Regions from separate parts of the Homo sapiens genome. Here region 2 is linked to region 1. The links are contacts of gene promoters, found by promoter capture Hi-C in human tissues and cell types (Jung and others, 2019). All regions are on one chromosome and are shown on one strand. Each heading gives the region's core, a stretch centred on a gene start or on the middle of the fragment in contact. The rest is flanking DNA. Distances are from core to core; before and after follow the strand shown. Region 1 holds the start of DZIP1 (DAZ interacting zinc finger protein 1). Region 2 overlaps DNAJC3 (DnaJ heat shock protein family (Hsp40) member C3).

Evidence for each region. The method cuts DNA at HindIII sites, captures the fragments that hold promoters and counts their contacts. A contact is called where the count stands out against the background at its distance.
Region 2: a contact is called between a fragment that was not itself captured here and the fragment with the promoter of DZIP1 in region 1, in 1 of the 25 tissues and cell types used here (H1 embryonic stem cells).

What each region holds. Positions count from the first base shown.
Region 1 is chr13:95,643,456-95,650,183 of GRCh38, forward strand. It overlaps DZIP1 (DAZ interacting zinc finger protein 1), which reads right to left and starts at 1,251. Exons shown (of 23, transcript NM_198968.4): 1 at 922-1,251; 2 at 146-243. LOC124903194 (a long non-coding RNA gene) reads right to left here. Exons shown (of 2, transcript XR_007063840.1): 1 at 6,609-6,728; 2 at 5,256-5,379. RefSeq lists silencers at 864-973, 1,034-1,123, 1,214-1,323 and an enhancer at 1,414-1,463. The HindIII fragment of the contact is 16,516 bases long and covers 1-6,728 here.
Region 2 is chr13:95,680,168-95,686,895 of GRCh38, forward strand. The region is part of intron 1 of DNAJC3 (DnaJ heat shock protein family (Hsp40) member C3); the gene reads left to right. Among named protein-coding and RNA genes, the nearest start is that of DNAJC3, 6.4 kb to the left of the region's middle. The HindIII fragment of the contact is 3,910 bases long and covers 2,041-5,950 here.

The DNA.
Region 1 (6,728 bases), core at 1-2,500:
TCCCTGCAACCAGGCATAAAAAGTGCTAAAGACATAAATAGTTTCAAAGTTTGATTCTGTCACTTACTTGCTCCCTGATCTAGAACAAATTGTCAGCTCTAAGACTTAGCTTCCTCCATCTGTTTAAGAGCATCAAGACACCGACCTGGCAGGTCTGTAGATTCTGGACTCCATCCACTGGGCTGCAGGATCAGCGGGAACAAGAGCTGTGGTCTCTCTTGCTCAAGTATACGTCCCTAGAACCTAGCAGAGGACAGGCACGGAGAAGGCGTTCAGAATTTGCTGAATGGACACGTGAATGAAGAACGATCGAATGACTTAGGCGCTTAGTTAAGGAAACATCAGCTCCTGGCCCTTTATCCCTCCTATTTTTGCTGCCTCTGGCCTGTTAGAACGATTAACCCATGATCTGGGCCAAGGGCTTCAGAGCTGAACGTGGGGGTGGCCCGCGCGCCCCCGCTGAGATCTGGGCGCAGAGGCCTGCGGGCCCGAGGTACCCATCTCCGTTGGCCGCCACACTCCATCGTGGGGCGTCGTGCCGCTGACCACCCCTTTCCCCTTGCGTGGATCTCGGTCACAAGATGGCCGGAACAGGAAAGAAGGGGGCATGCTTTCCCGTTCCCTCCCTCCCCCATCCCGGGCAGGGCCCCCAGCCTTGCGCGGCGCCTCAAGTCCCAGGCGCATGGCACCGCCGGGCAGCCGAACCAGCAGACAAAAGCCGAGAGACGCGGGTTCCAGGGGAACCTCGGCGCCCTTCCTTGGAAGGCAAACAGGCAGTGGGGGCAGCGGCGGCTACTCCAGCTGGATCTGCAGAGGCTCGGCTCGCAGCCTGGAGAGGCAGGAGGGCCGGCTTCGCGGGTATCGGGATGCCCCGTCAGCCACCTCCTGTGGGCGCCTGGCGCATCCCCGGTCTCGGCTCACCCCAGCTGCGCGCTCCTGGGCGGGTGCCGGGCGCTGCAGGCGGGCGGGGGCGACACAGGGGACCCAGACCCCAGGGTCGCTGCTGACGCGGGCCGGGCCCGCGGAGGCCGAGGAGCAGCAAAGCGGAGAGAGGCAGGCCGGCTCCTTCTTGCAGGGCGCAGGATGAAACGTGTCTGGTCTGGGCAAGTTGTGGCGAGGCGGGTCGACTGGCGCCGCTCTAGGGCCTTCCAGACTCCGGACCACGGACGACTCAGGATACCCCACCCCCCTCCCGCCCCCTCCCCTCCGCGATCTCCCTCCGGCCTCTTCCCTCGGTGTCCCGGCTCCTCTGGCAACTGGGCGGGACCGCGAGCGTCTAGACCGCAGCGCTAAAATGCGCTCAGCCAATCCGGCAGCTGGCGCAGACACGTGGTTCGGGGGCGCGCTCCGTTGCTGGCCCTGGATGCTAACCCTAGGAAGGCTTTTCAAAGAGAAACCAGATTCGCTCCTACCCGGTTGTTGGTCTGGCCCTCAGCAAGCTAATTTCCCAGAGGAGCTTCAGGTGAATTATCTTCCAAAAAGAGATGCGTTTTAATCGCAGAAGTCTGCAGATGCGAAGGACCTTGAAAAGGCTATCTAATGTGGCCCTGCATTTGAGTGACGTGGAAAACCGAGATTAGGGACTTTTCACCAAAGCCCTCTAGGATTTAAACCCACGTAGGTTTCTGCGTCTCTTTCCGTTATGCCCACTTCAGGATGAAAGGCACGGATCTTTGTTGGTAGAAAGTTAGGCACTGAATTACAGGAGATGTGGGTCCGGAGTAGTGTGCTCATTTATGTAACCTAAAATTGGAACACGTGGGACAAAAGTCAGTATTTTTAAGTAACAAGTAATCCAGAACGTATGTATATACCATCATGAGAAATGAAGGCATCTTTTGCAAAACCTAAGTGTCTAATGCAGCTATATATATATATATATATAATATATATATATATGTTTTTAAATTAGAGAGGAGTAGCTGCAGAACTTTTACTGGACCAACATGCCGTTGTAAAAGTGCCTTTCCTTGTGCTTCTCCCTGACAGAATCAACTTTGTACCATACTTTAGCACAAGGCTTCAAACATAGCAACAGCTAAATATGTATTTATGTTGAATTCCTTGCTTTAGTTTTATTTGAAGCCATAAGGCCAAGATGACCATGATGGGATTTTAAATTGGTCTAATTTTAAAATTATTTTGAAAGAAAATTCAAGATCTCTATAAAAATCCTCTAAGTACTATGGGGAAAGATTTCTAGATAGAAATTTCAGACAATAGGCCGAGCGCAGTGGCTGACGCCTGTAATCCCAGCACTTTGGGAGTCCGAGGCGGGTGTATCACGAGGTCAGGAAATCGAGACCATCATGGCTAACACGGTGAAACGCCGTCTCTATTAAAAATACAAAAAATTAGCCGGGCATGGTGGTGGGCACCTGTAGTCCCAGCTACTCGGGAGGCTGAGGCAGGAGAATGGCGTGAACCTGGGAGGCGGAGCTTGCAGTGAGCCGAGATCGCGCCACTGCACTCCAGCCTGGGCGAGAGAGCGAGGCTCCGTTTCAAAAAAAAAAAAAAGAAAAAAGAAAAGAAAAGAAAAAGAAAGAAAGAAAAAAAAAGAAAGGAATTTCAGACAATATGAGATAGATAGGACCATTGCTCTGCAAAATCCGGTTTTTGCAAACTCGGTAGCTGTCTGTGTGTGTGTGTGAGAGAGAGAGAGAGATGATTGCTTAATTAATATTATTTGTTGACATACCATTTGAGTTACATGTATTTCCCATCCCCACTGTCAGTATATTACCCTACAGGTGTAGAATTGGAATAAGAAGAATCAATTGACTTTGGCATGACTTAGCAGCCATGATGCATTCTTGATCTATGCACAAACCACTTTTACCAATTGTATAATGGTATACATATTTTTAATGATTAAGGTATCTCTCTCGTCGGTCAGACTATAAGAACCTCAAGTATTCCAGCATTTTGAGCATTTAGTAAGTCCTCAAATAAATATTTGCTTTTTGAAGACAGAAATGATCCTAAAGAATGAAATAATAATACTGGTGAACATTAATCATTTTGTACAGTAAATAAACAAAAGCATTGTAGCTGAATTTATTTCAAATGATTGTTTCTGTTTCTCTCATTTGAAAATAGTTATTGATATTACCTGGCTAATGTCCTTTAGTATGAAGGCGATAAATAAAGAAGGGCAGAAATCACATGTGTTGTCTGATTCAATACATATTAATTATTTTGCCTCATATTCCCATTTCAGATACCTAACCTTGGTTTTATATACATGGTTTAAAGAATAATAGGCCAGGTGAGGTGGCTCAAACCTGTAATCCCAAAACTTTGGGAGGCCAAGGTGGGCAGATCACCTCAGGTCAACAGTTTGAGACCAGCCAGGGCAACATGGTGCAACCCCGTCTCTACTAAAAATACAAAAATTAGCCGGGCATGGTGGTGCACACCTGTAATTCCAGCTACTCAGGAGGCTGAGGCAGGAGAATCACTTGAACCTGGGAGGCAGAGACTGCAGTGAGCTGAGATCATACCACTGCACTCCAGCTTGGGCAACAGAGGGAGACTCTGTCTTGAAAAAGAAAAAAAAAAGAAAAAAAAAGGAAGCAAGTTTATTAAGAAAGTGAAGGAATAAAAAAAAAATGTACTCCATAGGCAGAACAGCCTGTACCACATTTTTTAAATCCAATCCACTGTTGACAGGCACTTTGATTGATTCCACGCCCTTGCTATAGTGAATAGTGCTGTGATGAACATATGGGTATATGTGTCTATTTGATAGAATGAATTATTTTCATTTGGGTATATACCAGGTAGTGGGATTGCTGGGTTGAATGGTAGCTCTGTTTTAAGTTATTTGAGAAATCTCCAAACTGCTTTCCACAGTGGCTGAACTAGTTTGTATTTCCACCAACAACGTATAAGCATTCCCTTTTCTCTGAAGCCTCGCCAACATCTGTTGTTTTTTGACTTTTTACTAATTGCCATTCTGACTGATGGAAAACGACATTAACAGACACTTCTCAAAGGAACACATACAAGCGGCCAACATACGTATGAAAAAATGCTCAACACCACGAATCATCAAAAAAATGCAAATCAAAACAATGAGAAACCATCTCATACCAGTCACTGTGAGATTTAACAGATTTTAGGGCTGGTTTATAGGGAGAAATGTATTTAGGGGCTTGCAGGGAATTTCTTTGTAATTTGTGAGGGAGGCCATCTGGGAAGGTGTATGGCCTTCTATTATTGTGGGAATCTGACTTATATATAAGGCTCTGGCATGGAATTGTGAAATTACAACCATCTGTTTGGAAACAAAATGGTAGGCAGTATTGCCCCAACTCAGTTGCCAAGCTCAAATCTCCTTTGGCATAGTGAGTTTGGGGTCCCAAGATTTTATTTTCTTTCACACTTGGAACCTGAAAGTCAGACCCACATACTAAGGATGGGAAGGCAGAATGATGTTGTAAAGGGGTCATATCAGTCTTGAACCACCTGCATCTAGACATCTCTTCCAGGTGAGAAACCTTTTCAAGACATTTATCTGGATATTCTCTTTTATGCAGAAAAATCGAATTTTAACTGCCATTAGAACCTCCCACATCTCATGATTGTTCTGTGGATTACAGGGAACTGTTCTTGTGATAATTCAACTTCAATTGCATTCACTGCCACTATAACAATTAAATTCCTGGGAGGGTTGGGCACAGTGATTCACGCCTGTAATGCCAGCACTTTGGGAGGTCGAGACAGGCGGATCACCTGCGGTGTGGAGTTTGAGACCAGCCTGGTCAACATGGTGAAACCTCATCTCTACTAAAAACACAAAAATTAGCCAGGCATGGTGTCCCATGCCTGTAGTCCCAGCTACTCAGGAGGCTGAGGGAGGAGAATCACTTGGACTCAGGAGACAGAGATTGCAGTGAGCCAAGATTGTAACACTGCATTCCAGCCTGGGTGACAGAGTGAGACTCCATCTCAAAAATAAATAGGTAAATAAATTCCTGTGAGAAAGATTCTAATTGACTTAGTCACATGCCCAACCAGTGGTTTGGCTAAACGCAGGGTGTAAATGACAGCTCCACCATAATTACTTGAAAAAGACTGTAGCAATCCTCAAAGGAAGGTACCTATATAGAGAAATATGAAAACAAGACAAATGCAATGTCCATTAAATCCAACTCCTTCGCTGCTTAGCACCCACACACACTCATATTCTTCTTTCTATTGATATGTCTTAGTCTGTTTTGTGGCACTACAACAAAGTACCTGAGACCGGGTAATTTATAAAAATGGAAATTTATTTTCTCATACTTCTGGGGGCTGGGAAGTCCAAGATCAAGGCTCTTGCAGGTTTGAGTTTCTGATGAGGGCCTTCTGGTAGCGTCCTCACATGGCAGAAAGCTGAAGGGCAAGAGAGAGTGAAAGAGCAAGTGAGCAGAACGCTTTATGAAGCCTCTTTTATAAGGGCTTTACTCCCATTAATGAGGGAGGCATCTTGATGGCCTAATTGCCTCTTAAAGGCCCCACCTCTTAATACCATCACATTGCCAACACCTGAATTTTGGAAGGGACACATTCGAACCACAGCATTCTGCTGTGGCCCCCAAAATTCATATCCTTCTCACATACAAAATACATGTCTTCCTTCCCAGTAGCCCCGAAAGTCTTAACTTATTCCAGTATCAGCTCAAAAGTCTAAAATTCAGAGTCTCATTTAAATCAGATATGGGTAAGAGTCAGTGTATGATTCATCCTGAGACAAATTCCCTCCAGCTTTGAATCTAAGAAATCAAACAAGCTAAGGGCTTTAAAAGTACAATGGTGTATTTAGGCATGGGATGAACATTCCCATTTCAAAAGAGAGAAATAGGGAAGCAGAAAGGAGTGACAGATTCCAAGCAACTCCAAAACTCGACAAGGCAAACACCACCAAATCTTGAGGCCTAAGAACAACCTTCCCTTACTTCATGTCCTGCCTTCTGAACACACTGGGGCAGAGGTTAAGGTCCCCAAGGCCCCAAGGTACCCCACCCCTGCAGCTTTGCTGGGCACAGCCCATGGAGCAGCTGTCACAGGTTGGTGTTGGGTACCTGTGGCTCTCACAGGTTGGCATTGCATGCTGGCATTTCTATAGGTCTGGGGTCTCTGGGGCAGAGACCCTACCCCCATGGCTTCACTAAGGCCTGCTCTAGTGGGGATTCTCTGCAGTGTCCCTGCCCCCAGAGCAAGTCTCTGCTTGGGCCCCAACAGTGTCTGAGATATCCTTTGAATTCTAGGTGGAGGCCAATAATGCTTCCACAGCTCTTGCACTCTGCAAGCCTGCAGAATTAGCACCACCTGGATGCAGCCAAGGTGTGTATGGCTATGCCTTCCAAGATGGTGGCCTGAGCCACACCTGGGCCTGCTTGAGCTACAGCTGGGAAAGCTGAGGCGTGCTACCCCAAAATGCGGAATGCAGAGACCCAAGGCAGCCCTGGGCAGTGAGCCCCAAGGTTCCATGAACCCCTGAGCCATGCAAAACTACTCTTCTCTCAAGGCCCTGGCACTCTGGGCCTGAAATGGGCATGGCAGCCTCAAAGATCTCTGAATTGCCTTTGGGGTCACTCTCCCATTGTCTTGATGAATATCACCTGGCTTCCTTGTATCCATAGTAATCTCCATATCAACAGTCATTTGGCCACTCTCGGTTTTCTCCCCAACACATTTTTTAAATCTTTATATGCCCAGGCTGTGAATTTTCCAAATCTTTA
Region 2 (6,728 bases), core at 2,746-5,245, 39 kb after region 1:
GGTTTGTCCTCTTGGTGACTTGAGTAGCAACACAGCCTGGGAACGAAACCTTTTTTCTCTTATCATAGTTTTATCTCTTTTTCTTCCTTAACATGCTATCTGGACCCAATTTTTCTTTATTTCATTGAGCTGATTAAACCATATATTTTGGCCATGGGGAAAAGAATAGTTGAAAATATATAGTTGAAAATCTATACGTATAAAATATTGTGATAAGTTTTATTTGAACCATGATAAGTTTTATTTGAACCTAACCTATTAAAGGTATGTTTTGTCTTTTCTAGGATTTTCTTGACATTATCTAAATAGGGAAAGAATAAAGTAGCAAAAATGAGTGACTTTAAGTAATTTAAATAAATTAAGTATCATAAAAGGTGGTCACATATTTTCTAGAATTATTTTAAATTCTTTAATAAGATAGGCTGTAGTTAGCAGTAGTATCAAAGTTCCAGTTCTCTTGACATAGTTAGTATTTGCTGAGAAACTGCCTGGAAATGCAGTGGTTTTCATTCTGTGAGGTAGGGGAAGTTGTTCTGGGAGGGGATGCACTGTAGTAATTAGGTTTTATTTTCCCATATGAAGTTAATTAATTGTTGTTAAGTTTAATTTCTACTGCTGTGGTCTCTTTTGATTAGTGTCCTGCAGTTAATCTTTGTTTATATGGAAGTATCATGGGAACCCATTCACCTGCTCTTCAGAACGCAAACATTTCAACCATAGATTTATTTTTCTTTCCATATCTTTAGAAAGCTACTTAAAAAAATTAAATCTGATGAGTTTGTATCATTTGGAGTTCTGGAATATGGAGAAGACTCATTTAATCAGTCAGCAAAGGCTTTTACTAACTATATTGCTCTTTGGTGAGGTATATATACGTAGCATAGAACTCATGGCTTTTGCTTTTGAGTTTACAGACCACTTAGGGTTTAAGACATGCATTTGTGAAGCATTCACGTCCTCTTTTTCTCCTTTCCCGCTTTAGACTGAGTGGTCCATTATTGTAGTTAGTGTACTGCAAATGCCCATTTATTTTCTGGCCCCTGTAATCTTCTGTTTTACTCACCTGCCAAAACCCAACACTGGTTAAATTCAACTTGGCCAACTGTTTTTATACCTTATAGGTAAACACGGACGGAGGAAAATGGAGACAACTTTGCTGATTAGTCTCATTTATCTTTATTTTTATTTTCAATTTTTTTTCGAGACAAGGTCTTGCCCTGTCACCCAGGCTGGAGTGCAGTGGCATGATCCTAGCTCAATGTAGGCTTGACCTCCTGGGCTCAAGCAGTCCTCCCATCTCAGCCTCCTGAATAGCTGGGACCACAGGTATGCACCACTGCATCCCCTACTAAGTTTTTAAAATTTTTTGTAGGGACAGGGTCTTCTATGTTGCCCAGGCTGGTCTTGAACTCCTGGGCTCAAGCAATCCTCATCCCTTGGCCTCCCAAAGTGTTGAGATTACAGGCACGAGCCAATGCACCTGGCCCTGATTAGTCTCATTTTAAAGAAACAATCTCAGTCGCAAATGCACATTAAATACTGCTAACACTCCCACAATTCTTTACTATGTCTATTCTTGAAAATCAATATTTCAAACATTTTCCTCCTTTCTGAAGCCTCTAATTTAAACTCTCCTTTCCTCTCTCCCCTACCTCATTCTTTTAGACCTTGTCTTTACTGAGAAAATGAAAGCCATCACAAGGCAAGTTCTTCTTTCTACCTCAAAATTCACTAGCTTATCTACATTTGTACCTATTCTGCTACTTTTTCTCATATTGAAATACATTAAATGTCTCTATTCCCAGATAAATCTAATCTGTGTACTTACACCCTGGATTCCATTTCCTCTCACCTTCTGAAAATGTTGCTCCTACAGTTGTATCTTTGTGCTGCTATAACAAAATACCACAGACTGAGTAATTTATAAAAAAAATTTCAACCTGAATTTTGGAGAGAACATTCAGATAATAGTAGATGCTGAACTTCCTGTACTATCTTTCTTTGGCTAGATTCCACTGTCTTCTGTGTTTCTGCTACAAGACTTCTTTTAGACTCTACCCCACCTTGCTAGAGTCTTGGCTTAGCCTTCTGTTCTTTTTTAGAGAAGAAACTTAGGGCTTTCCTCATTCCTCATATTCTAAGTGCTCCAACCTGAATAACCATCTCTCTCTCTGGGATTGCTCTCTGGTCTGGGTCTGCCACCGCCTTTGCTTGAACTTTAGTATCTTTGACTATGAGTTCTTGCCTCCTTTAGTCTGGTTCTTCCAGTCTTGATTGTAACTCACGTCATACCTTTAACCCCCCACCTTTAAGTTTAAAAAAATCCTTATTTTCTGCTCTCCAAAATATAAGATATTCTAATACTAATTTCAGTGAAAGACATAGTTGGCTACTCTACCTTTTTCCCTGCCCTTGCTGCTTATTTTGCTGACTTATGATCACTGCTTGTCTAAGGAGAAACCTATTGTCTAATGCTGATTAGGAAATGGCATGATGTTTGGTTGTCTTACCTCTCTGAAAATAATGTTTACAGACCATGTGGCAAAGGAATAAAAATTACCTGTGGCTCAAAAGAGAGTGGATTGCAAAAACAGCCAATAATTCGCAAATAATTTGATTTTTCAGATGTGTCTTTATGAATCATTGATCATATGTTTGACTTGATAATTGTTATGTATTTTAGATTTTATTCTGATGAATTATAATACGTTTAAGTAAAAAGGCAAATAGTTAAATTCATTCAACAAATATTGCATACCCACTATGTGCGGGATACTGAATTAGGTGATACAAAGAAGAAAAGACAGCTCCTCCTCTCAAACTTGCTTTTGATAAGTTTTGTGGAGTTGGGACTTTGAGAAGCAGGCAAATTGTGAAAAGCAATATATAGAGAGAGTGATATTGCAAAGTGAAGTCATGTACTTCTGAGTGTGGAAATGCAAAATATAGGAAGATTGAAGGAGCTTTTTTTCCCTCTCTCAAAACAATACAGTGTGAGGGAAGGTTTCACAAAGGAGCCAGCATTTGAGGGCAGAATCTTTTTTTTTGTTTAACTTTATTTTATTTTAGATTCAAGATATACATGTGCAGGTTACATGGGTATATTGTGTAATGGTGGGGTGGTATGATTTAGATCTGTGCCCCACCCAAATCTCATGTTCAGCTGTAATCCCCAGTGTTGGATCTGGGGCCTGGTGGGAAGTGATTGGATCATGGGGGTGGTTTCTAATGGTTTAGCACCATCCCCCAGAGCTGTTATTGTGATAGAATTCTCACAAGATCTGGTTGTTTAAAAGTGTGCAGTATCTCCCCCCTCTCTGTCTTCCTCCGGCTCTGGCCATGTGAAGATGTGCCTACTTCTCCTTTACCTTTTGCCATGATTGTAAATTTCCTGAGGCCTCCCCAGCCATGCTTCATGTACAACCTACAGAACCGTCAGCCAATTAAACCTCTTTTCTTTATAAATTACCCAGTTCCGGCTGGGCACTGTGGCTCACGCCTGTAATCCCAGCACTTTGGGAGGCCGAGGTGGATGGATCACGAGGTCAGGAGTTCAAGATCAGCCTGGGCAAGATGGTGAAACCCCGTCTCTACTAAAAATACAAAAAAAAAAAAACTTAGCCTGTTGTGGAGGTGGGCGCCTGAAATCCCAGCTACTTGGGAGGCTGAGGCAGAGAATTGCTTAAACCTGGGAGGCAGAGGATGAAGTGAGCCGAGATTGCACCACTGCACTCCAGCCTGGGTGACAGAGCAAAACTCCATCTCAAAAAAAAAAAAAAAAAAATTACCCAGTTCCGGGTATTTCTTTATAGCAATGTGAGAATGGACTAATACAGAAAATTGGTACTGGGAGTGGGGCATTGCTATAAAGATACCTGAAATTGTAGAAGGAAGCAACTTTGGAATGGGGTAATGGGCAGAGGTTGGGACAGTTTGGAGGACTCAGAGGAAGACAGGAAGAGGAACGAAAGTTTGAAACCTCCTAGAGACTTGTTGAATGGTTGTGACCAAAATGCTGATAGTGGTATAGACAGTGAAGTTCAGGCTGAGGAGGGCTCAGAATGACCGCAGATGAGGAACTTATTGGGAACTGGAGTAAAGGCCACTCTTGCTATGCTTTAGTAAAGAGACTGGTGGCATTGTACCCCTGGTCTATGGATCTGTGGAACTTTGAACTTGAGAGAGGTGATTTAGGGTATCTGGTGGAAGAAACTTCTAAGCAGCAAAGTGTTCAAGATGTGACCTGGCCTCTAGCAGCCAGTGCTCATATTCATGAACAAAGAAATGATGTAAAATTGGAACTTACATTTAAAAGGGAAACAGAGCAGAAGAGTTGGAAAATTTTCAGTCTGACCATGTGGTAGAAAAGAAAAACCCATTTATAGGGGAGTAATTCAAGCAGACTGCATGAATTTGCATAAGTAAAGAGGAGCCAAGTGCTGATAGCCAAGACAATGGGAAAAAGGGCTCCAAGGCATCTCAGCGACCTTTAAGGCAGCTCCTTCTATCATAGGCCCAGAGACCTAGGAGGGAAGAACAGTTTCCTGGGCCAGGGCCCTGCCAGCCTCAGGACACTGCTGCCTGCATCCTAGTTACTCCAGCTCCAGCCATGGCTGAAAGGGGCCCAGATATAGCTCAGGCCTTCAGACGGTGCCAGCCCAAACCCTTGGAAGATTCCACATGCTGTTAAGCCTGCAGGTGCTGAAAGCCAAGAATTGAGGCTTGGGAGCCTCAGCCTAGATTTCAGATATATGGAAAAGCCTGGATGTTCAGGCAGAAGGTTGCTGCAGGGGCAGAGCCCTCATGGAAAAATCTCTACTAGGGCAGTGCAGAGGGGAAATGTGGGGTTGGAGCCCCCAACAGAGTCCCCACTGGGGCACTGCCTAGTGGAGCTGTGAGAAAGACCACCATCTTTCAGACCCCAGAATGGTAGATCCGCTGACAGCTTGCACCATGCACCTGGAAAAGCTGCAGCCACTCATTGCCAGCCCTTGACAGCAGCCGCGTGGGCTGAGCCCTGCAAAGTCACAGGAGTGGCACTGCCCAAGGCCTTGGGAGCTCACCCCTTGCTGCAATATGCCCTGGATGTGAGACATGGAGTCAAAGGAGATTATTTTGGAGCTTTAAGATTTAATAACTGCCCTGCTGGGTTTTAGCACGTGCATGGGGCCCGTAGCCTTTTTCTTTTGGCCGGTTTTACCCTTTTGGAATGGGACTATTTACCCAATGCCTATAATCCCATTGTATCTTGGAAGTAATTAACTTGTTTTTGATTTTATAGGCTTATAGGTGGAAGGGACTTGGCTTGTCCCAGATGAGACTTTGGACTTTTGAGTTAATGCTGGAATGAGTTAAGACTTTGGGGGCTGTTGAGAAGGGATGATTGTATTTTGTAATGTGAGAACATGATATTTTGGAGGAGCTGGGGCGGAATGATATGGTTTGGATCTGTGCCCCACCCAAATCTTATGTTGAATTGTAATCCCTAATGTTGGAGTTGGGGCTTGGTGGTAGGTTTTTTGTTTTTTTTTAGAAATCTCCATATTGTTTTCCATAGTGGTTGAACTAATTTACATTGCTGCCACCCATATATGTGTTACAATTTCTTCACCTCCATGCTAACATCTATTTTTTTTTAAGCTTTTTAGTAATAGCCACTCAGACTTGTGTAAGATGATTGATATTTCATTGTGGTTTTAATTTGCATTTCTCTGATGATTAGTGATGAACATTTTTTCATGTTTGTTGGCTGCTTGTATGTCTTCTTTTGAGAAATGTCTCTTAATGTCCTTTGCCCACTTTTTTTTTTTTTGAGACAGAGTCTTGCTCTGTCGCCCAGGCTGGAATGCAGTGGCACGATCTTGGCTCACTGCAAGCTCCGCCTCCCAGGTTCACGCCATTCTCCTGCCTCAGCCTCCTAAGCAGCTGGGACTACAGGTGCCTGCCACCATGCCCGGCTAATTTTTTGTATTTTTAGTAGAGACAGGGTTTCACTGTGCTAGCCAGAATGGTCTTGATCTCCCGACCTTGTGAGCCACCCGCCTTGGCCTCCCAAAGTGCTGGGATTACAGGCGTGAGCCAGTGCGCCTGGCCCTTTGCCCACTTTTTAATGGGGTTCTTTGTTTTCTTCTTGTTGAGTTGTTTGAGTGTCTTGTAGATTCTGGATATTAGTCCTTTGTCGGAGGCATAATTTGCAAATGTTTTCTCTCATTCTGTAGTTTGTCTCTTTGCCCTGTTGATTATCTTTTGATGTGCAGAAGCTTTTTAGTTAAGTCCCATTTGTTTATTTTTGGTTTTGTTGCATTTGTGTTTGGGGTCTTCGTCATAAGTTGTTTGCCTAGGCCAATGTCCAAAATGTTTAATCTATCTTGAGGTAGTTTTTGTATATGCTGGGAGACAGAGATCCAGTTTCTTCTGCATATGGCTAGCCAATTTTCCCAGCACCATTTATTGAATTAGGGTGTCCTTTCCCTGTTGTTTATATTTGTCAGCTTTGTCAAAGATCAATCTGTTGGATGTAAGTATGTGGTTTTATTTCTGGGGTTCTCTATTGTAGTCCATTGATCTGTGTGCGTATTTTTGTACCAGTACCATGCCATTTTAGTTACTATAGCCTTGTAGTATAATTTGAAGTCAAGTAATGTGATGCCTCTGGATTTGTTCTTTTTGGTTAGGATTACTTTGGCTATTCATGCCCTTTTTTGGTGCTGTATGGACTTTAGAATTGT